7 separate regions of the Homo sapiens genome follow, and regions 1, 2, 3, 4, 6 and 7 are each linked to region 5. Evidence: promoter capture Hi-C in 16 types of primary human blood cells and fetal thymus (Javierre and others, 2016). All regions are on one chromosome and are shown on one strand. The core of a region is centred on a gene start or on the middle of the fragment in contact, and the rest is flanking DNA. Distances in the headings are between cores, read along the strand shown. Region 1 has its middle 36 kb from the start of FAM85B. Region 2 overlaps PRAG1 (PEAK1 related, kinase-activating pseudokinase 1). Region 3 overlaps PRAG1 (PEAK1 related, kinase-activating pseudokinase 1). Region 4 has its middle 64 kb from the start of FAM85B. Region 5 holds the start of MFHAS1 (multifunctional ROCO family signaling regulator 1). Region 6 has its middle 18 kb from the start of FAM85B. Region 7 overlaps PRAG1 (PEAK1 related, kinase-activating pseudokinase 1).

The links. The method cuts DNA at HindIII sites, captures the fragments that hold promoters and counts their contacts. A CHiCAGO score of 5 or more calls a contact.
Region 1: a fragment that was not itself captured here is called in contact with the fragment with the promoter of MFHAS1 in region 5 in 1 of 17 cell types (M0 macrophages); the score reaches 5.2 in M0 macrophages.
Region 2: a contact is called between a fragment that was not itself captured here and the fragment with the promoter of MFHAS1 in region 5, in 6 of 17 cell types (activated CD4 T cells, naive CD4 T cells, total CD4 T cells and 3 more). The highest score is 10.1, in activated CD4 T cells.
Region 3: a fragment that was not itself captured here is called in contact with the fragment with the promoter of MFHAS1 in region 5 in 3 of 17 cell types (non-activated CD4 T cells, M1 macrophages and activated CD4 T cells); the score reaches 8.2 in non-activated CD4 T cells.
Region 4: a fragment that was not itself captured here is called in contact with the fragment with the promoter of MFHAS1 in region 5 in 3 of 17 cell types (total B cells, naive CD4 T cells and non-activated CD4 T cells); the score reaches 6.5 in total B cells.
Region 6: a contact is called between a fragment that was not itself captured here and the fragment with the promoter of MFHAS1 in region 5, in 5 of 17 cell types (non-activated CD4 T cells, naive B cells, M1 macrophages and 2 more). The highest score is 6.4, in non-activated CD4 T cells.
Region 7: a fragment that was not itself captured here is called in contact with the fragment with the promoter of MFHAS1 in region 5 in 3 of 17 cell types (activated CD4 T cells, total CD4 T cells and non-activated CD4 T cells); the score reaches 8.5 in activated CD4 T cells.

The regions. Positions count from the first base shown.
Region 1 is chr8:8,262,065-8,264,764 of GRCh38, reverse strand. No RefSeq gene overlaps it. Among named protein-coding and RNA genes, the nearest start is that of FAM85B, 36 kb to the right of the region's middle. The HindIII fragment of the contact is 290 bases long and covers 1,170-1,459 here.
Region 2 is chr8:8,340,646-8,343,345 of GRCh38, reverse strand. All of the region lies in intron 3 of PRAG1 (PEAK1 related, kinase-activating pseudokinase 1), which reads left to right. Among named protein-coding and RNA genes, the nearest start is that of PRAG1, 44 kb to the left of the region's middle. The HindIII fragment of the contact is 3,665 bases long and covers 1-2,700 here.
Region 3 is chr8:8,357,576-8,360,275 of GRCh38, reverse strand. The region is part of intron 3 of PRAG1 (PEAK1 related, kinase-activating pseudokinase 1); the gene reads left to right. Among named protein-coding and RNA genes, the nearest start is that of PRAG1, 28 kb to the left of the region's middle. The HindIII fragment of the contact is 324 bases long and covers 1,135-1,458 here.
Region 4 is chr8:8,290,061-8,292,760 of GRCh38, reverse strand. No RefSeq gene overlaps it. Among named protein-coding and RNA genes, the nearest start is that of FAM85B, 64 kb to the right of the region's middle. The HindIII fragment of the contact is 1,342 bases long and covers 711-2,052 here.
Region 5 is chr8:8,892,214-8,894,946 of GRCh38, reverse strand. MFHAS1 (multifunctional ROCO family signaling regulator 1) reads left to right here and starts at 1,317. Exons shown (of 3, transcript NM_004225.3): 1 at 1,317-2,733. The coding sequence starts at 1,889. RefSeq lists silencers at 1,172-1,421, 1,432-1,711, 1,822-2,091 and an enhancer at 1,936-2,733. The HindIII fragment of the contact is 4,068 bases long and covers 935-2,733 here.
Region 6 is chr8:8,243,721-8,246,420 of GRCh38, reverse strand. It overlaps the pseudogene FAM86B3P and the pseudogene ALG1L13P. Among named protein-coding and RNA genes, the nearest start is that of FAM85B, 18 kb to the right of the region's middle. RefSeq lists an enhancer at 1,321-2,520. The HindIII fragment of the contact is 913 bases long and covers 958-1,870 here.
Region 7 is chr8:8,322,500-8,325,199 of GRCh38, reverse strand. The region is part of intron 5 of PRAG1 (PEAK1 related, kinase-activating pseudokinase 1); the gene reads left to right. Among named protein-coding and RNA genes, the nearest start is that of PRAG1, 63 kb to the left of the region's middle. The HindIII fragment of the contact is 6,195 bases long and covers 1-2,700 here.

The DNA.
Region 1 (2,700 bases), core at 65-2,564, 630 kb after region 5:
TTACAATCTAATAATAGCAGGCAAATGCATAACAAATACATTCACTAATGCAAAAGAATTAGAACAGAATTGTGCTCCGTGTCACAGAATTATGTTCTGGGACCAACGGGGGCACTAAGGAAGAAAGGACAGACGTTCCCGTGAGTGGTGATCTCATGAGAGTAATTATTAAACCAGAAATGTGTCCTGCCCAGGAGTGGCTCCTTTAGAGCAATGACAGATCTAGTTACACTTGAAATTAGGAGAGAGGGGCCGGGCGCAGTGGCTCACGACTGTAATCCCAGCACTTTGGGAGGCTGAGGCAGGTGGATCACGAGGTCAGGAGATCGAGACCATGCTGGCTAACACGATGAAACCCCGTCTCTACTAAAAATACAAAAAAATTAGCTGGTCGTGGTGGCGGGCGCCTGTAGTCCCAGCTACTCGGGAGGCTGAGGCAGGAGAATGGTGTGAACCCTGGAGGTGGAGCTTGCAGTGAGCTGAGATCTCCCCACTGCACTCCAGCCTGGGCGACAGAGTGAGACTCTGTCTCAAAAAAAAAAAAGAAGAAAGAAATTAGGAGAGAGGATGAGCTTTTGTTGTAGCATCAAAAGAGATGGGCAATAATGAGGAAAAATAGCTTTACAATGAAAGTTATTCCAAAAATTATTTGCTATAAATGGTATAGAATCTTCTTTCTTAGAGAAAGGATACACTGTCATCTGGCTGGGGTGGCTTAACTATGTTCACTAAGGTTCTCAAGACTGCTAAACTGTTATTTTTGCAAAAACACAATAACTTTAAAAATTGGCTGTAAGCATGCCTGCTTAAGCACTCTAAATGCAAACAATTACTGCTTATATAACAGTGACTCATACCCTATGGTGTCACCTAAAACCTGACTATTCTCCAAAGCTTTCTAGTTATAGATGGAAATTCTCATACTTAAAAACTTGTAACTTACAAGCCATCACAGGTGCAAAGCTATTTTCCAGAGCAAAAGCATATCAACTCCGTCTGGCAACAAGACATGCAGTAACAATTATGCACCATCCTTTTAGTTCAAATATACTTTTGCCCGAGGCATTAGCCATTATTCTAGTGTGTATTTGCTATGTTTACACTTAGTTTTGAGATACTTTATGAACATTTACTCCAGTGTCTCAAATAAATGCAAAAACAATAAAGCTTGTAAAAAAAAATACTAGATTGAAGAAGCGGACAATCACAAATGAAACAAAAGTAGAAATATGGTATTAGAAAAAATTTTAAGAAAATGATATGTGCGTAAGACGTTTCTCTTTGGCTCATAGGAATAATTCAGTATGACAAAGCAATTTGTAGAAACTGCTGCTCTAATCATCTTTAGCAAAAGATGAGAAAGAATAACTACCAAAATGGAAAAAAAAAACAGAACAAAAAACCACAGTGAGCGTGGCAAAATTTAATGAAGAAGAAGCCTGGAAGATTATCCAAAGCTTCAGCATGGTAAAAGTAGCCAGGCACTAGGGTGGCCAGCCACACTTGTAGGTGCCTAGGTCTTTTCAGATCTGCATAATGCAAAAGTCACTGGTGACATGTCCATCACAAGCAAAAGTGAGTGGTGACACATCCATCACAAGCAAAAGTCAGTGGTGACATGTCCAACACAGATGGGGCAGCGGTTCTCTGTTGGTAGACTCCGTCCCATACAGGGGAACAAGGCTTAGTGATTAGAACAAGGCTGCAATCCGGCTTCCATTTGCCACCTCAGTTGGGTGGCCAACCTGCATCTACAAATTGCTTGCTAGAAAACTCCTCACAACACAAGTGGCACTCATCCTGAAGTGGGGATACCTACCCAAAATATTTTTGTTATAGTGAAAATCGATCTGGTTTGGAAACAGATGCCAAGTGGAACTTACAATATCAAGGAGGAAAAGACTCTGATTGTAAAGCTCTTAGAAGAACAATTCACTGTCCTACTGGATGATAATGCAGTGAGGAACCACAATCACAAGCCTCTTGTAGCCATAAGAACCTACATGGGGGAAATTGGCTTATTTACAAATTTTTAGGTATGGTTGGTGGTAGGCAAACATGTTCACCAGCAATTCCTTCTACCACTGGTTGCATGCGCCGTTTCTTCCATTAAGAAATGAAGTCTATTTCCTTTCCCCTTGAACCTGGCCAGATCTTTTAACTTGCTTTACTTGCTTTGATTTCTCCCCCTAAAAGAATATAACAGAAACGACACTCTTGAACCTCCGAGCCCAGGACTTAAGATTGACAGTTTCTTCTTTCTCCCTCTTGGAAGCCAGCTGCCATGTACATAGTCCAACTACTCTGAGGTCAATATGCTACAAAGAAGCTCAGGCTACCAAAGGAAAGATCAAATAGAGGAGAACCAAGGAACCCCAGCTATGCCCCCAGCTCATCAGCCAACTAAATGCAGTTGCTACAATGATCCCAGGCAAGACCATCAGGAAAACTTAACTGGTTAACTTATGAAATCAAGAGATATAATATATTGCTTTACTTTTAAGCCACTAAGTTTTTTGGTTGTTTCCTTTGCAGAGCCTAATTAGATCATAAAAGTAGAGGAGCTTTTGTAATAACAGATGTGTGAGCCAAAAAAATATATAAACAGATTCCTCCACAAGATTCCATGGAAACCACAGTGAGTGGCAGGATGGCAATAATCCACACATGAAGAAACAAAGGCAAAAAGAAAAATTTTCT
Region 2 (2,700 bases), core at 147-2,646, 550 kb after region 5:
TGTGTGTATTTAACTTTACAAGATTCATCACATTGTTGTCCTGTGTGTGAGTTTACCAATCTACAGTCTCACAAACAGTGTGAGAGAGTTCCTATTTCCCTATATCTTTAACAAAATCTGACGTTGTCAGTCTGATCTGATGGGTATGAAATGAAATCTTGTTTTATTTACAATCTGATCATTCATAATTTTAATAATCTTTTCATGTGTTGAGTGGCCTTTCTTGTTTCATTTGTGAGTTGCCTGTTCATTTCCATTTTAAAAATGGGGTCATTTGTCTGTTTCTTAGATTTATAGGCACTCTTTTTTATTCTGCCTACCAGTACTTTATTAGTAATGCGGGTTGCAAAGATGTGAGTTGGCCACTCCAAGGTTTGTTTTTTTTCACTTTTTAATGGTGACTTTTATGTTATGAGGCAGAAGTTTTAAATTTTAAAGTAGTCAGATTTATCTTTTTCTTTATATTGCTATTTTTTAGCCCTTATTTTAAAAATTATTTCCTACCCCAAGTTCATAAAGTTTTCTCGTTATTTTTTCTGATGAATTTAAAATTTAATGGGTGTTTCTTTTCTGTTGAAAATTCGTGTTTCTACACGGTATGAGATATGGCTCTACTTTCTTTTTTTCTTCACATCATAAATAGCTGGTGTAAGTACCATGAATTGACTTGTTAATCCTCCAGTCTGTTTCTTGGGTCTGTGTCCTGGAAATGTTGGTCCTAGATTTATCAGAACCAGATCTTTACTGATCTCATTTATACAGCAACTGGTCCTTGATGGTTTTACAGGGTAGTTTTCGCAATCTTTCAGAGAACACATAATGTTTCTCTTATAAAAATTACCTGAGATAAGGCCGGGCGCGGTGGCTCACTCCTGTAATCCCAGTACTTTGGGAGGCCGAGGCGGGCAGATCACGAGGTCAGGGGGTCGAGACCATCCTGGCTAACACGGTGAAACCCCGTCTCTACTAAAAATACAAAAAAATTAGCGGGGCGTGGTGGTGGGCGCCTCCTGTAGTCCCAGCTACTCGGGAGGCTGAGGCAGGAGAATGGCGTGAACCCGGGAGGCGTAGCTTGCATGAGCCAAGATGGTGCCACTGCACTCCAGCCTGGGCAACAGAGCAAGACTCCATCTCAAAAAAAAAAAAAAAATTACATGAGATAATTGAAAAAGTGAAAGTTACTCAATTCATTTTATAATTCCTTTTCTTTTTTTTGAGACACAGTTTCACTCTGTCACCCAGGCTGGAGTGCAATGGCACCATCTCGGCTCACTGCAACCTCCGCCTCCTTGGTTCAAGCGATTCTACTGCCTCAGTCTCCCAAGTAGCTGGGATTACAGGCGCAGGCCACTATGCCTGGCTAATTTTTGTATGATTAGTAGAGATGGGGTTGGCCTGTTGGCCAGGCCGGTCTCGAACTCCCTACCTCAAGTGATCTGCCCGCCTTGACCTCCCAAAGTGCTGGGATTACAGGAGGGAGCCACCGTATCCGGCCGTCATTTTATAATTCTATTTTAACCTTTATATCCAAATTGGACAAGGACAGGACAAGAAAGAAAAATTATGGGCTAGCCTCTATTTGAATGTAAATGTAAAAATCTTAAACTAAATATGAGTAAAACTGAATCCAGCAATGTGTAGTAAAATAAGTTCATACAACATGTGCAAGGATGGCTTAATTAAGAAAAGCTATTAACATAACTCATCACATTCACAGAGTAAAGGAGAAACATGATATGATTTTTTTCCCATAGATGTAGAAAAGGCATTTAATAAACCCTAATAGCCAAAAATGATTTTGAAATACAAAACCTTAGAAAACTTGAAATAGAAATAAACATCCTTAGCCTGATAAAGTGCGTCTACTGAAATCTGTAGTAAATATACGCTTAGTATTGAAGGATCCCTTGTACTGCCTGTGTGTGGAGTTCCCTCTTTGTATCTGGCACCTGAGAATTGTTCTTTCTTTTAATCTTGGCTGTTACTTTAAGTAAGTATGTGTGTGTGTGTGCATATGTATATGAATATATATATATGCTCATACATACACATGTTTATGTATTTTTTGGTTTTGTCTATTTACATACATTTCATGAAGTTTGTGGAGTGGGAAGCTGTGCCAGCTCTGTAGCCATGGTGCTGTAGTTTCTCCCTTAGTGATTTTCTGGGCCTGAAGACCAAGAAACTCTAGAAACCACTTTGGAAGGGGCAAAGTAGGGGATAGCCACAGAGCTGGCTCTGGCTTCTCTCCTAGACTGAGGAGTTGTTATGCATGACTTCATATCCTGGCTTCCCTTGGAGAAAACTATTAGTGATAGATCTGATGTGGATATAAGAATATTGTATGAAACTGTCTGATTTTATTTTGCCAGGAGATTAGGCAAGGATCAGCTACTGCCATAGCATTTCCTAAGGAATTGATATTTCCAAGGTTCCCACAGCGATACTGAGATACAAAGATGAAGATTAGTCATAATGTTGCCTTCACTGTCACATTTTTTTTTTTGACAGATTTAACACAGTTTAAAAGTACGATTCTAAGGGTTGGGAGTGGGGAGAGGGACGTGTTTTCAAGGAGCACTTTTTGTGGTAGCGAACAAACTTTAAACCCTCCTGTTGATACACAGGGGATTCCCGTGACTATGAAAATTAAAACAGGGCCTGGCAATGTTGAACACAAAGAACAGCCAATAAATTCTT
Region 3 (2,700 bases), core at 47-2,546, 530 kb after region 5:
GGCAAGACAGATGTTACAGATGTGGGAGGCCAGGTCATTTTAAGAACGAATGTCCTGAATTGGAAAAAGCAGAGGAAGCTCTCCCATTTGTGACTACTTCTGAAGAAGAATAGAGGGGTCAGGGGCTCTGTCTTTTCTATTTCGAGTCCCACCAAGAGCCCTTGATAAATTTAGAGGTGGGACCCAAACATGAATTAATCACCTTTTTGATTGACTCAGGAGCTGCTCACTCATCTGTTGGTTTTCCTCCAGCTGATTTAGCTCGTTCCTCAGAGGAATTGACAGTTTCCAGGGTCAAAGGAGAAGGATTTAAGGCAAAAATTTTAGAAAATATGGAAGTTAAATATCAAGATCAATCGACTTGTATACAATTTTTATTAATTCCTGAAGCAGGAACCAATTTGTTAGTAAGGGATTTAATGATAAATTAGGTATAGGTTTGCAAGTTGGTCCAAAAGGTTTTCTAACCTCTTTAAATTTGTTAACTGCGATAGATGAAAAATACATACATCCAGATGTCTGGTCAAGGAAACTGAGGAAAGCTACGAATTCCTCCAATACATATTTGGTTAAAAACTCCAGGGGAGGTAGTAAGGAGAAAGCAATACCGTATTCCTTTATAAGGAAGAATAGGGTTAAAGCCTGTAATTGAAGGACTTATTAAAGATGGGCTGCTCAAACCTTGTATGTCCTCATCCAATACTCCAATTTTACCAGTCAAGTAATCAGACGGGTCATACTGATTAGTGCAAGACCTTAGAGCTATCAATCAGATAGTCTAGACGACTCATCCTGTTGTACCTAATGCTATTTCTAATTGGCTAGAAGGATGGTCCGGTCAATAGAAAGAAACTGTAGCCTCAATTCTTACTTCTATAGCAACTGTAATAGGCATACTCCTTCTTCTTGGGTGTTGTATTATACCATGCATCTGGGAATTAGTAATAAGATTAACAAAAACAACTCTTACTAAAACCCATCTTAACTCTCCTCCACCTTATTCAGAAAAAATTCTCCTTTTAGAAATTCAATCAGAGCAATTAAGCCAAGAAATATTAAAACAGTTTGAAGAGGAAAAACTATAAAAAAATAAGAGGAGGGAATTGTGAAAAGTAAAAAGTTCCTCTTCAAGCTTACCTTTTTTATTAAGGAATAAATCATAAGTGTTAGAACTAATAGTTTATCTTAAAGACTAGCTTTTAACAATAACTCTTCATTAAACCTTACATAGTCATTAAGTGTAAAAGGATAAGCATTTTATATATACATATACTTTAACTACAATATGAGTTTTGGCTTGCTCAGGCATGTCCCAGGTCACAGCTTATATCCCTTCCTTATTTGGAAATGTTATTGCTTCTATAAGCCTTTATGTAAGCAACTTCCTCTTTTCCTTTGTTTAGCACTGTCTTTACCTATTTAGGAAAGTTTTAGATTGTTAGCCAATTGGGCTAAGCTTAGACTGTGAGGTCCAGCTCCAGCCAGTGGAGGTAGGACAAAGCAATAGGGACTTCACCCATAAGGGATAAATATTCCTGTGTCTCTTTGTTCAGTGTGCTCTCGTGGCAGGATTGCTGATGGGCAGCACCCTTTCTGCAGAAAGTAAAATTGTCTTGCTGAGAAAACTTTTTGTCTGAATGCTGATTCTTCTTTGTAGCACCAAGGAATAAGCATTCCTTTCCAACAGAAATGATGTGTCTTTTTGTATGCTTATGAATTGACTGAGGGCTGGCAGCCCCTTGGTCACTTCAGTAGGGGAGTTGGTCACCTGAAAAACCAAGACAAGATTAGAGGGTTGAGACTTTCAGTCCCACTCCAACCCACAGGGTTGGGGAGAGAGGCTGAAGGTTAAGTTGATCACTAATGGCTGATGCTTTAATTAATCATGACTATGTAATGAGGCCTCCATAAAAACCTAAGAGGACAGAGTTCAGAGAGTTTCTGAATAGCAGAACCTCTGGGGTTTCCTTGAGGGTGGTTTGTCAGAGAGGGCATGGAAGCATCATGCCCCTTCCCACACGCCTTGCCCATGCTTCTCTTCTTCTGTATCCTTTGTGATATACTTTATAATAAACTTGTAAGCATTTCCCTGAGTTCTATGTGCAGCTCTAACAAATTAATTGAACCCAAGGAGGAGATTATGGGAGCCCCAATTTATAATTGATTGATCAGAAGCACAGATAAAACAACCTGGGCTTTGGATTGGCATTGGAAGTAGGGGGAAGTCTTCTGAAACTGAACCCTCAACCTGTGGGATCTGACTCTACCTCTAGGTAGATAGTGTCAGAATTGAATTGAATTTGGTAGCAACCAGCTGGTGTTTGCTGCAGAATTGATTGCTTGCATGGTGTTGGGGTGGACAACTAACAAGATCTGAGGTCACAGAAGTATTTTGTATTGTGACAGTATAGGAGGAACTGAATTTGTTTTTCCCATACATTCACAGAACCATATTGTGTTTATTCATTCGTCTGTTAATGGATACTTAAGTTGCTTCTACATTTTGGCTACTGTGAATAATACTGCTATGAACACAGGTAAGCAAATATCTGTTAGAGACCCTGTTTTCAGTTCTTTGAAATATATACCACAAAGTGGAATTGTTGGCTCATTTGGTGATTCTATTTCTAATTTTTTGAGGAACTGCCTTACTGTTTTCCATAGCAGCTGCACCATTTTGTATTCCCACTGACAGTGCAC
Region 4 (2,700 bases), core at 132-2,631, 600 kb after region 5:
CTTCCTATATAACTTTCCTGCTCTTCTCACCAGCCAGCGTTGCATTAGCTAGAGTATGTTGACAGTGCTGTCTGAATACATCAACTCTGGGACCCAGACGTGGCTTTGGCAAACAGCAGTCTATTTCCACGAAAACCCAAGTGACTCCCGGGGAAGAAAAATACACACATAAGTAAAACTTGTCCCAAGGGGAAAGAGGAGCAGGCCGGCCCATGTCTTCCAAGACTGAAGAGTCAGTTATCCGGGAGAAGAATGGCTGTGTTTGTCTTTCAGATCTTTCCCTGGTCCAGCCTAGTGGACTCATGCCTGAATCTTATTTTAAATAGAGTAGGGGCTGGGTGCGGTGGTTCACACCTGTAATCCCAGCACTTTGGGAGGCTGAGGCAGGTGGATCACTTAACGTGAGGAGTTCGAGACCAGCCTGGGGAACATGGTGAAACCCCATCTCTACTAAAAATACAAAAATTAGCCAGGTGTGGTGGTGGGAGCCTATAATCCCAGCTACTCAGGAGGCTGAGGTGGCAGAATGAATCGCTTGAACCTGGGAGGTGGAAGTTGCAGTGAGCCGAGATCGTACCACCATACTCCAGCCTGGGCGATAGAGGGAGACTCTGTCTCAAAAAAAAAAAAAAAAAAAAAAAAAAAGAGTAGAGGTAATCATATAATTAAAAGTGAAAATGCCTGTTTCTCAAAACCTTTGGGTATAAGCTTTATACCCAAACTTCTGGACCAGTTTAATGGAGTACAGCCCTCAAAGGGAGGCAAGAATTCTCTCCCACTTTTCCAAGGAATATTATGCAGTTCAGCATCTCCTCCCCAACCCTGAGGTTCCAGTACCTCAGCATCTGCTGTATGGGCTCTAGGGTGTCTGCAGTGAAAGCAGCTAATTGGAGGCAGTGATGTCAAGCAGGGCCAGAGAGGGTGGCAGGGGCTGCAGCACCAGCAGCCAGGCGATGCTCAGCCTGAGCATGGCCAATGCACCCTGTGTAGCATCCAGGAGAGGCAGCACATCCCTACCAGAGCCATGGTACAAAATACAAGCCACCTGGGTATCTGGAAGCGAGGGTGGGGCTTGGTAATAATTACTAAAGCATGCAGCACAGCAACAGCCAAAGAGAAGAAAGGGAAAAAAGTGAAATATGTAATCTTATTCACAAATAAATATAAGAACAAATTCCACTGAATCCCTGAAAACAAAATGTGGGGCGAGGGCAGTAAACGCAACTGACTACTGTAAATGCAACCTCACCTTAAAAGATTACCAACTAGCTAAGCATGGTGGCCCACGCCTGTAATTCAAGCACTTGGAGGCTGAGGTGGGTGGATCATTTGAGGTCAGGAGTACGAGACCAGCCTGGTCAACATGGTGAAACCCCTGTCTCTACTAAAAATACAAAAGTTAGCCAGGTGTGCTGGTGTACATCTGTAATCCCAGCTACTCAGGAGGCTGAGACAGATGAATCGCCGGAATCCGGGAGGCAGAGTTTGCAGTGAGCTGAGATTTGACTATTGCACTCCAGTCTGGGTGACAGAGTGAGATCCCATTTCAAAAAAAAAAAAACAAAAATTACCAACTACTAGCCTTATGGAGCAATATTTAAGTTGTTTTTATTTTGACTTAGACTTTAGGGCTAAATCTATGTTTTAATGAAGAAAAAATGTGTTCATAAATAATTATTTTCCTCAGAAGAAAAACATATTTTCTTTTATCACGTTGCCAGCCCAAAGGAGAGCTCATGTTTAAAAAATCACAGTGTTAGTTTATGACCAGCCTGGGCAACACAGCAAGATCCTGGCTCTACCAGAAAAAAAATTTTTTTTTAATTAGCCAAATGCAGTGGCACATGCCTGTAGCCCCCACTACTCCTCAGGAAGCTGAGGTGGAAGGATCACTTGAACCCAGGAGTCCAAGGCTGCAGTGAGCTATGATCATGCTACTGCACTCCAGCCTGGAAGACAAAGCGAAAACAACAATAACAACGACAACAGCAACAAAAAGCAAAAATCACAGCGTGTCTTAGGACTCATGTTCACTTTCATTTTTTTAAAGCTTTGCTAATTACTGATTAATCTTTTCTATTCCCTGTTGCTTAAACAATATTAGAATGTTTCTGTGCACAAAATCCAAGACTCAAAAACACAAAATAAAATTTGATGGCTTTTAAGTAAAAATTTGTTACTCAACTTATTTTTACCGCGATTTAGATTCATTGTGATGTTGGAGGTATGACCTTATCTATTCATCTGAATGACATTTTGTTTCAACAAAAGGGCAGTGCTCTCAATGTCAAATAATAAGATAGAAATCTTTAATCCCTTTAGTCCTTCTGTATACCTAGGTCATTTTATTTTAGAGTGTATGTGTACAGAGAGTATACTCAACTAACCCTCATAGTGATTACACTGGTTGTACCTAATGCAACAAATACTATTCAACTTTAACAAAATAAGAATTTTATACTGTCTGGCTTATTCTTAATTCTTCCCTAAGGGCCTATTTGGTTTAGCATCAAATACAAGATTAAGAGACTCTAAACGTTAGCTGAACAGCCACTCAAGGGATTTAGACATGATCTCTTTACACAAAAGAGTTAGCATACATCTGATATCCCCTGCACAGAGAACACATGTTTATACATATAATAAATCTCCTTTTCCTACCGATGATTATTTATTTGAAAGCAAAATGAAAAACAACCT
Region 5 (2,733 bases), core at 68-2,567:
AGCATAGATGTGAGCTCAAAGAAACATTTCCTAACAGCAATAAAAATAAGCATTAGAGTTGAACAATGGACTGTGACTGTTTCCCAAAATAGCTGTTTTCTTGAGTCCGCAGAACAACAGGTACTGTATTAATGGGGATACAGTATTTGTTTCACAGCGTTGTTGTGAAGATAAACGGGATACCCCAGATAAACAGCTTGTGTCCCCCCCATCTTAACAACCCTCCTTTAGGCTGGCGGGCCACCTGCTCAAAAGCCTTCCCCAGGGGGGTTAAAACCGTCTTTTAGTAGTTCTGGTACGGGTGGGCTGGGGGAGATCCTCTAAAGCCAGTGCGACCTTGACCCCAGCCAATGTCCAGGCTCTTGACACATCCAGAGAATGAGTTCAAGGACAACTCAGAAAATAGTGACAATATGCAGATTTATTGCAAAGGGAAAAGTACACACCCAGGAAAAGGGATTGTGGAGAGGGTCACTCACAACGGGGCTTGGGGCTGCTACCTTTATGGGTTTCTTTAACCAAGGGGTGAAATATTCATGAAAATTCCTGGAAAAGTGTGGAGATTTTTCGGGACTGTGGTGCCACCCATTTTTACTTCAAATATGGGTGTCCCCGGAATTGTCATGGCACTGGTGTGACTTAGGATGTTAAAGAGCGTATAATGGAGGCCTAGGAGAAACCTAGGTCAAATCCAGGACCACGTCGGGTCCAGCCGGTCTTAGCCAGCTTGGTACACACCCTGGTTTTCAGGGTCTTATCAGCCCATAGCCTCCAGTCAAGTGAAACTGCTGCCTGGTATTTTTTATTCTCCTCTGACCAGCCTGCATTACTCCTGTCCCATGTTCAACACGAAATAGGGCCTCAGGAAATATTTACCAAATGAATGAATGGTTGCCTGTTCTAATTTTGTTTAACCACACTCTTGTCCTAAGCTTCTATGATGATACCCAGGGCCCCCGAGTTGTGCCAGTTCCACTACGGCGTGGATGCAAGGCGAGCGGCAGGGGAGCAGGTAAAGGATGAGTAAGGGAAGCCGGCGGATCCGACGCATTAGAGAACAAGAAAAAGAAATCCTTAGAGACTGGGGGCCAACAAAGAGCCAGGCGCGGGCGAACCCACCAGGGGGGCCCCGGAGCCCCACATCCGCCGCTGGGACGACCTCCCCGCCCAGCATGGTCCGGGGCGCGGACCCGGCCCCGCGCCAGGCGCCCCCGGCCCCGCACCCGGCGCCCTCCGCAGCTCCCGCCCCCGGGGCGGTGCCGGGAAAACGCGGCGCCTCCGCCGGTCACGTGGGGGCCGCTCCGGCGGGCGGCGCTGCCGCTTCCCAATCGCGCCCTCCCAGCGCCGGGGACGCGGCGCCCGCGCTCCCGCCCGAGCCCGGGGAAACGGAGACAAGGAGGCGCCGCCGCCCCCTCCCCGCGGCTGCGCCCCAGCCCTGCGCCCGCAGCATGCCCGCCGCCGGGCCGAGCGCCGCCCTCCCCCAGGAGCTCGAGGAGGCGACGCCGCTGCCGGCCGCGGGACCGCGGCTGCGAGGGTAGCGGGGCCGGAGCCGGGCCCCCCGAGGCGCCGCGCGGCGGGCGGAGAGGGAGGAGGAGCAGGCATCCTCCGCGGCGCGCGGGCGGCGGCCCTGCTGCCCGGCGCGCCCATGGCCCGGCCGCAGGGAGAATGCAAGCTGCTCTCCACGCGCTCGGCGTCCCCCGGAGCCGCTCGCGTCGCCGCCGCCCCCTAGCCGCCAGCGCTCGGCCGCTGGCTGCGCTAGGACCCGCGGCCGCCGGCCGCCGAGCGCGGGAGGGCAGGCAGGGGCAGGAGCCGGAGGGCCCGGGGCGCGGCGCGGCATGTAGCTGCGGGCTCCCGCGTCCGCGTGAGGCTGTCGGCCCGGGGCCCCGCCATGGCTGGGATGGACAGTGGCAACCTGAAGACCGCGAGGCTGTGGCGGGACGCCGCCCTGCGTGCCAGGAAGCTGCGGAGCAACCTGCGCCAGCTCACGCTTACCGCCGCCGGGGCCTGCCCCGGGGCCGGGGCCGACGCGCTCGAGTCCCCCGCCTCCCCCCAGCTCGTGCTGCCGGCCAACCTCGGGGACATTGAGGCACTGAACCTGGGGAACAACGGCCTGGAGGAGGTACCCGAGGGGCTGGGGTCGGCGCTGGGCAGCCTGCGCGTCCTGGTCCTGCGCAGGAACCGCTTCGCCCGGCTGCCCCCGGCGGTGGCCGAGCTCGGCCACCACCTCACCGAGCTGGACGTGAGCCACAACCGGCTGACCGCCCTGGGCGCGGAGGTGGTGAGTGCTCTGAGGGAGCTGCGGAAGCTCAACCTCAGCCACAACCAGCTGCCCGCCCTGCCCGCCCAGCTGGGCGCTCTCGCTCACCTGGAGGAGCTGGATGTCAGCTTTAACCGGCTGGCGCACCTGCCTGACTCCCTCTCCTGCCTCTCCCGCCTGCGCACCCTGGACGTGGATCACAACCAGCTCACTGCCTTCCCCCGGCAGCTGCTGCAGCTGGTGGCCCTGGAGGAGCTGGACGTGTCCAGCAACCGGCTGCGGGGCCTGCCTGAGGATATCAGTGCCCTGCGTGCCCTCAAGATCCTCTGGCTGAGTGGGGCCGAGCTTGGCACGCTGCCCGCCGGCTTCTGCGAGCTGGCCAGTTTGGAGAGCCTCATGCTAGACAACAACGGGCTGCAGGCTCTGCCCGCCCAGTTCAGCTGCCTGCAGCGGCTCAAAATGCTCAACCTCTCCTC
Region 6 (2,700 bases), core at 165-2,664, 650 kb after region 5:
GACAGAAGAAGTTAAGGCCAGTGGCCTGTATGAGGCACAGCTGATGAAACTGGTTTGTCTTGCTCTGAAGATCACCTACAGGGTTCAAAGCTTGAAGCCACTATATTCTGTGAGCAGACAGATGAGGCAATGGGCTGCAAACTGAGTGGATTCAAATTCCGTTCACCCAGCTACTCACATGGGAGTCAGGAGGTTCACACTCAGGACAGTTTCAGTCCCAAGGCTCTGAGCTCAGGGATAGCAGTCCCAGTATAGACCAGGAGAAGAGAGGATGGGAAATGAGGGAAGATCCACACACTGAATGGCAGGTCTTCAGCCTCTCATGGACTGCTCCCATGCTCCTTTCTGGAGAAGCCGAAGAGTACAACCATCACAAGTCCCTCAGGAAGAAGGCTGGCTAACTGGTGAGCCTTCTGTGAAGCCAGCCTTCAACAAACCCAGCCTTGTTTGTTTAGGTTTTTCTCTAAAATATGAATAGATGGTCAAAGTGAAGCGGCATCATATTCTGGGGTAAATACCCGAGATTTGTTGTCTCACGGCCATGGAAAACTAGGACACAGATACACCAAGAGTGAGCTTAAGGCGGAAGTTTAATAGGCGACAGAAAGAGAAGATCTCTCTCTGCTGCAGAGAGAGGGGTCCTGAATGGGTTTCCACTTCCATGGTGAAATGCAGAGCGTTTTATAGATGAGCTTGAGGAGGTGGTGTCTGTTTTACATATGGCATGAAAGATTGGTTGGACCAGGTGTGCCATTTTACTGGGTGTGAAAAGGTGGCTGCCCACCCTAATCTTTTATTATGCAGATGGTTCTCTACCTGGCGAGTGCCATGTTGCCTGTTTCTTTACTGTACACATGGTGACAAAGAAAAGGGAGGATGGAGCCTCCATGTTGAACATGCCTGGCCCCAGGTAGCCTTTTCCTCGTGGACAGCTGCCGTCATTCACCCGTGGAAGCTTCCAGCTTGCTCACCTATATTTGCAGCTCGATTTTTTCAGGCTGCTCTTTGTTAGAAAAGAACAATTTCTTGGGCTGCTTTTTGTCAGAAGGGAAGCATTGTCGAGGACTCTTTTACCATCACTATCCGCCCAAATAATTTCTTTCTGCCTTCCGTATCAAGAGGTCATCACACATTTCAGGAAAGTCATCACCATGAAAAATGGAAACCAAAACCAACTTAGTGGAAACAAAAGACGCAGGAGACGGTAAAAAGCTACACTTAAATCAGAAGAGCATGTTATGTAAAGATAAATAAGTAAATTTTAAAAAGTAAAGACCTCTTCAAAGTTTATAAAGATGGTAACTGAAGTAACAATTCATTATAAATTTTGAAGGCTAAAGTTGAAGAATTTTCATAAATGTTAAACATTTTTTTAAAAACTAGGCGTTGCTCTGAACCTACTCTGGTTCTAGGGATACCTGATTCTCCGGTTGTTTTTTGCTCAATTAAACTCTGTCAAATTTAATTTGTCTAAAGTTTTTCTTTTATCAGATGGTATTGTAAGTTTCTTGTATCGGTTTGAACCTCGAGAGCGCGCCAACAGACAACACGACAGTGTGGAGCAACATGCTGTTTTAATGAGAGCCTGGGTGCTGGCGGGCTGAGGCCTAAAACGGCGTCAGCCCCAAGTGAGGATGGGGCAAAGGTTTTATAGTCTCCTGTAAACAGGAAGTGTCCTGGTCTGACGTAACTGCAACGTTGTACCCAGATGGCCTCTTTCTCCATCTTCAGAGGTACTTGTCTTCCGGCTGGCTCTCTTCCTGCTTTTGCTATCTTGCTGGCGCATCTGCTCACGCACGCTGCTGATGCAAGCGGCCTTGCGCCCTGGGGCTGGGCCTGAGAAGGGAGGAGTTGCTCAACCCCTTAAGCTTTCAGGCCCTGGAGAGAATCTTACAATATCAGAAGTGGGATTCACATAGCGCTTCCCGTGACCCTCCAGGAATATCAAGTGACCCAGCAAGGTACTGTAACCACCCTATGGGTTCATTTTGCCCCCTGCCCAGGTAGAGACAATTTATCAAGACAGGAAAATTGCAATAGAGAAAGAGCTTAATTCATGCAGAGCTGGCTGAACAGAAGACTGGAGTTTTATTATTACCCAAATCAGTCTCCCGGAAAATTTGGAAGCCAGACTTTTTCAATGATAGTTGGGGAAAGAGAGGGGAGGTGACTAGGCAATAGGTTCTTGCTGCTGGTTGGTTGGGGGTACAATCACAGGGATGTTGGAGATGGTCCTCATGCACGCTGAGCCACTTCTGGATGGGGCCGCGGGAGTGGTTGGCAGGTCTGGGTGGAGCCATCAGTCATCAGACAAGCAAAAACCTGAAAAGACATCCGAAAAGGCTGATCGTGGGTTCTACAATAGTGATGTGATTTGCAGGAGTAATTGGGGAAGTTCCATGTCTTGTGACCTCCAGAATAATGGCAGGTAATCATTTATGTCTACACCTTAGCAGAAATCAGGCTCCTCCCATCCTCTTACCCTGGCGGTCTCTCATCAGCTTTACAAATGTGGTTGAGCTTTGGAGAAGAGCTATTATCATTTAAACTATAAACTAAATGTCTCCCAAAGTTAGCTTGGCCCATGCCCAGGAAGAATGAAGGGCAGTTTGAAGGGTACAGGCAAGATGTGGGATGGTTAAATTTTCTCACTGTTAGAATTTTTGCAGAGGGAGTTCAGTACTCGCCTGCCCACTGTGT
Region 7 (2,700 bases), core at 2-2,501, 570 kb after region 5:
CGGGCAGCTGTTCCACTTCATTAGCTCTCCAGTCTAGACGAAATACAGTCATCTGGGGATCCGCAGGAGGGGGAGTGGGTCTCCCTTCCCAGCCAGCGAGCTGCCTGTCTGAGGCTGAGCGCATTTTATCTGCACATGTTAAACAGGGAGCCGGCACTGAAGGCAGACGGAGCCTCGTTTGCGGTCGCGGAGTCCTAGTTAACAATAGCAGGCTCACACCTGCTCCTTGCTGATGCTGGAACCTACTACTTTGGGCTCAGCGCCCTGCAGCAGTGAGGAGATAAAGCTGGTTCTTGTAGCTCCACCGCATGAATAGGTGACAGGAAAAAAAAAATCATTAGTTGTGTGTGCGTCTTCGAAGCAGTTTCATTTCTCAGCCATCTAGACAGAATTCTAGTTTGGTAATTAGGGCCCCGTTTTAAGCTGCTGGGCCTTTTTTATTTAACAGACATGATTTAGCCCAGACTTTCGCCCGTGAATGAGGCCCTGACTCCAAAGTTTAAATGAGTCCTGGCTCAGCAAAACGTTAGAAACTTGAGCTGAACCAAGAGTCTATGTAAAGTTCTAGAGCTAAAAATCCGAGTGCAGGGCCCCCTGAAAATGAAATGAGGTTGGTTGGGGGCAGGGAGTAGGGAGATGGAGATGGAGAAAAAGCCACTCCCTCCCCCACCGCCCCTTCCCCCACCCAGTGCTGTGGAATGATCTCCGGCGCGGGCCTACAGCTCACTCACAGGGCTAGTTAGCATGCGCCCAACGCAGCCTTCTCCGTTGCTGGCCTTTGAGGAAGCTGCGGGTCTTGCCAAAGGCCCAGTGCACTGATTTTGAAATGCATCCAGCCCAGTTGCCATTTACTCTGCTCCTTCATTTACATCTCTGTGCAAAATGTCAGCAGCCTGACTGGAGCTCCAGGCCTCAAGTGTTTGCTGGGCCCAGGCTTTTCATACCCCTGAGAAAAAGGAGCCTTGGAAACTCTTCCCAGGCCCCTGGGCAGCTGTGCTCTTCGGGTTTGCACAATACCTGCAGGCCAGCTCTGGATGCCTCCGCATCACCAGAGGGCTACAGCCGAGATGGCAAGAGCAGTCACCATAGCAACCTTCCCCATTGTGCTTGCCCTGGGCTGGGCCTGGCGCTGAGAGCCATGCCTGCATCATTTCATCTGATCCTCACAATGGCCCTACGAGGAAGGACTATCCCTGCCCCTGTCATTCAGAGGAGAAAACATGCTTTGAGATAAATACCGTCCATCTTCATTATTTATGGATTCTGTATTTGCAAAATCATCTACCCGCTCAAATTTATGTGTAATTCCAAAATCAATACTCGAAGCGCTTTCCAGTGATTTCTGGATACGTGTAAGGGAAGGAAAAATTTGAGTCACCTGATGTTTAGTTCTCACGATGCTAATAAAGACATACCTGAGACTGGGTAATTTACAAGGGAAAGAGATTTAATTGACTCACAGTTCAGCATGGCTGGGGAAGCCTCAGGAAACTTACAATCATGGTGAAAGGGGAAGCAAACACGTCCTTCTTCACATGGTGGCAGCAAGGAGAAGCCAAGCAAAAGGGGCAAAAGCAGCCAGGTGCAGTGGCTCATGCCTGTAATTCCAGCACTTTGGGAGGCCAAGGCAGGTAGATCACGAGGTCAGGAGTTCAAGACCAGCCTGGCCAACATGGTGAAACTTCATCTCTACTAAAAAATGAACAATACAAAAATTAGTCAGGTGTGGTGGTAGGCACCTGTAATCCCAGCCACTTGGGAGGCTGAGGCAGGAGAATCACTTGAAGCCAGGAGGTGGAGATTGCAGTGAGCCAAGATGCGCCACTGCACTCCAGCCTGGGCAACAGAGCAAGACTCTATCTCAAAAAAAAAAAAAAAGGGAGGGAAAAGAAAACCCCTTATAAAGCCATCAGATCTCATGAGAACTCACTCACTATCATGAGAACATCACCAGGTTCCTCCCACCACACGTGGGGATTATGAGAACTACAAGATGAGATTCGTTTGGGGACACAGCCAAACCATATCACCCAATGTGCATGTTTCCAGCTGAAGGGGAATGAGGCGACAGTCTCCCATCTTGTTTCAGCCCTCATCCTGGAAGCCAGGGTCATTTTTTGCAGTCTATTTAGTGTCTTGTTTTTCACATTTGTGTGCTTTTTGTTTGTTAATGAAAAGAGTCCAACTCTGTAAAATATTAGATTTATTCTGAGCCAAATATAAGTCACCTATGGCCCATGACACAGCCCTCAGGAGATCCTGAGACCATGTTCCCAAAGTGGTCAGGCCACAACTTGGTTTTGTACATTTTAGGGAGACACAGTTATCAATCAATACATGTATGATGTACATTGAAGTTGAGGGGGCCGGGGGAGCTTCCAAGTCGTCGGTGGATTCAAAGATTTTCTGATTGGCACTTGGTTGAGAGAGTTATTATCAATAGAAAGGAATGTCTGGATTATGAGAAGGGGTTATGGAGACCAAGACTTTATCATGCAGACGAAGCCTCCAGGTAGCAGGCTTGAGTGAGAACACATTGTAAATATTTTTATCAGACTTGAAGAGACTGCCCTATCAGTAATCCCAACAGGGAGGAGGGTAGCATGAGGCATGTCCAGCGCCCCCTTCCCATCATGGCCTGAACTCATTTTTTTATGTTCACTTTGGAATGCCCTTGACTGAGAGGAGGGGTCCATTTCA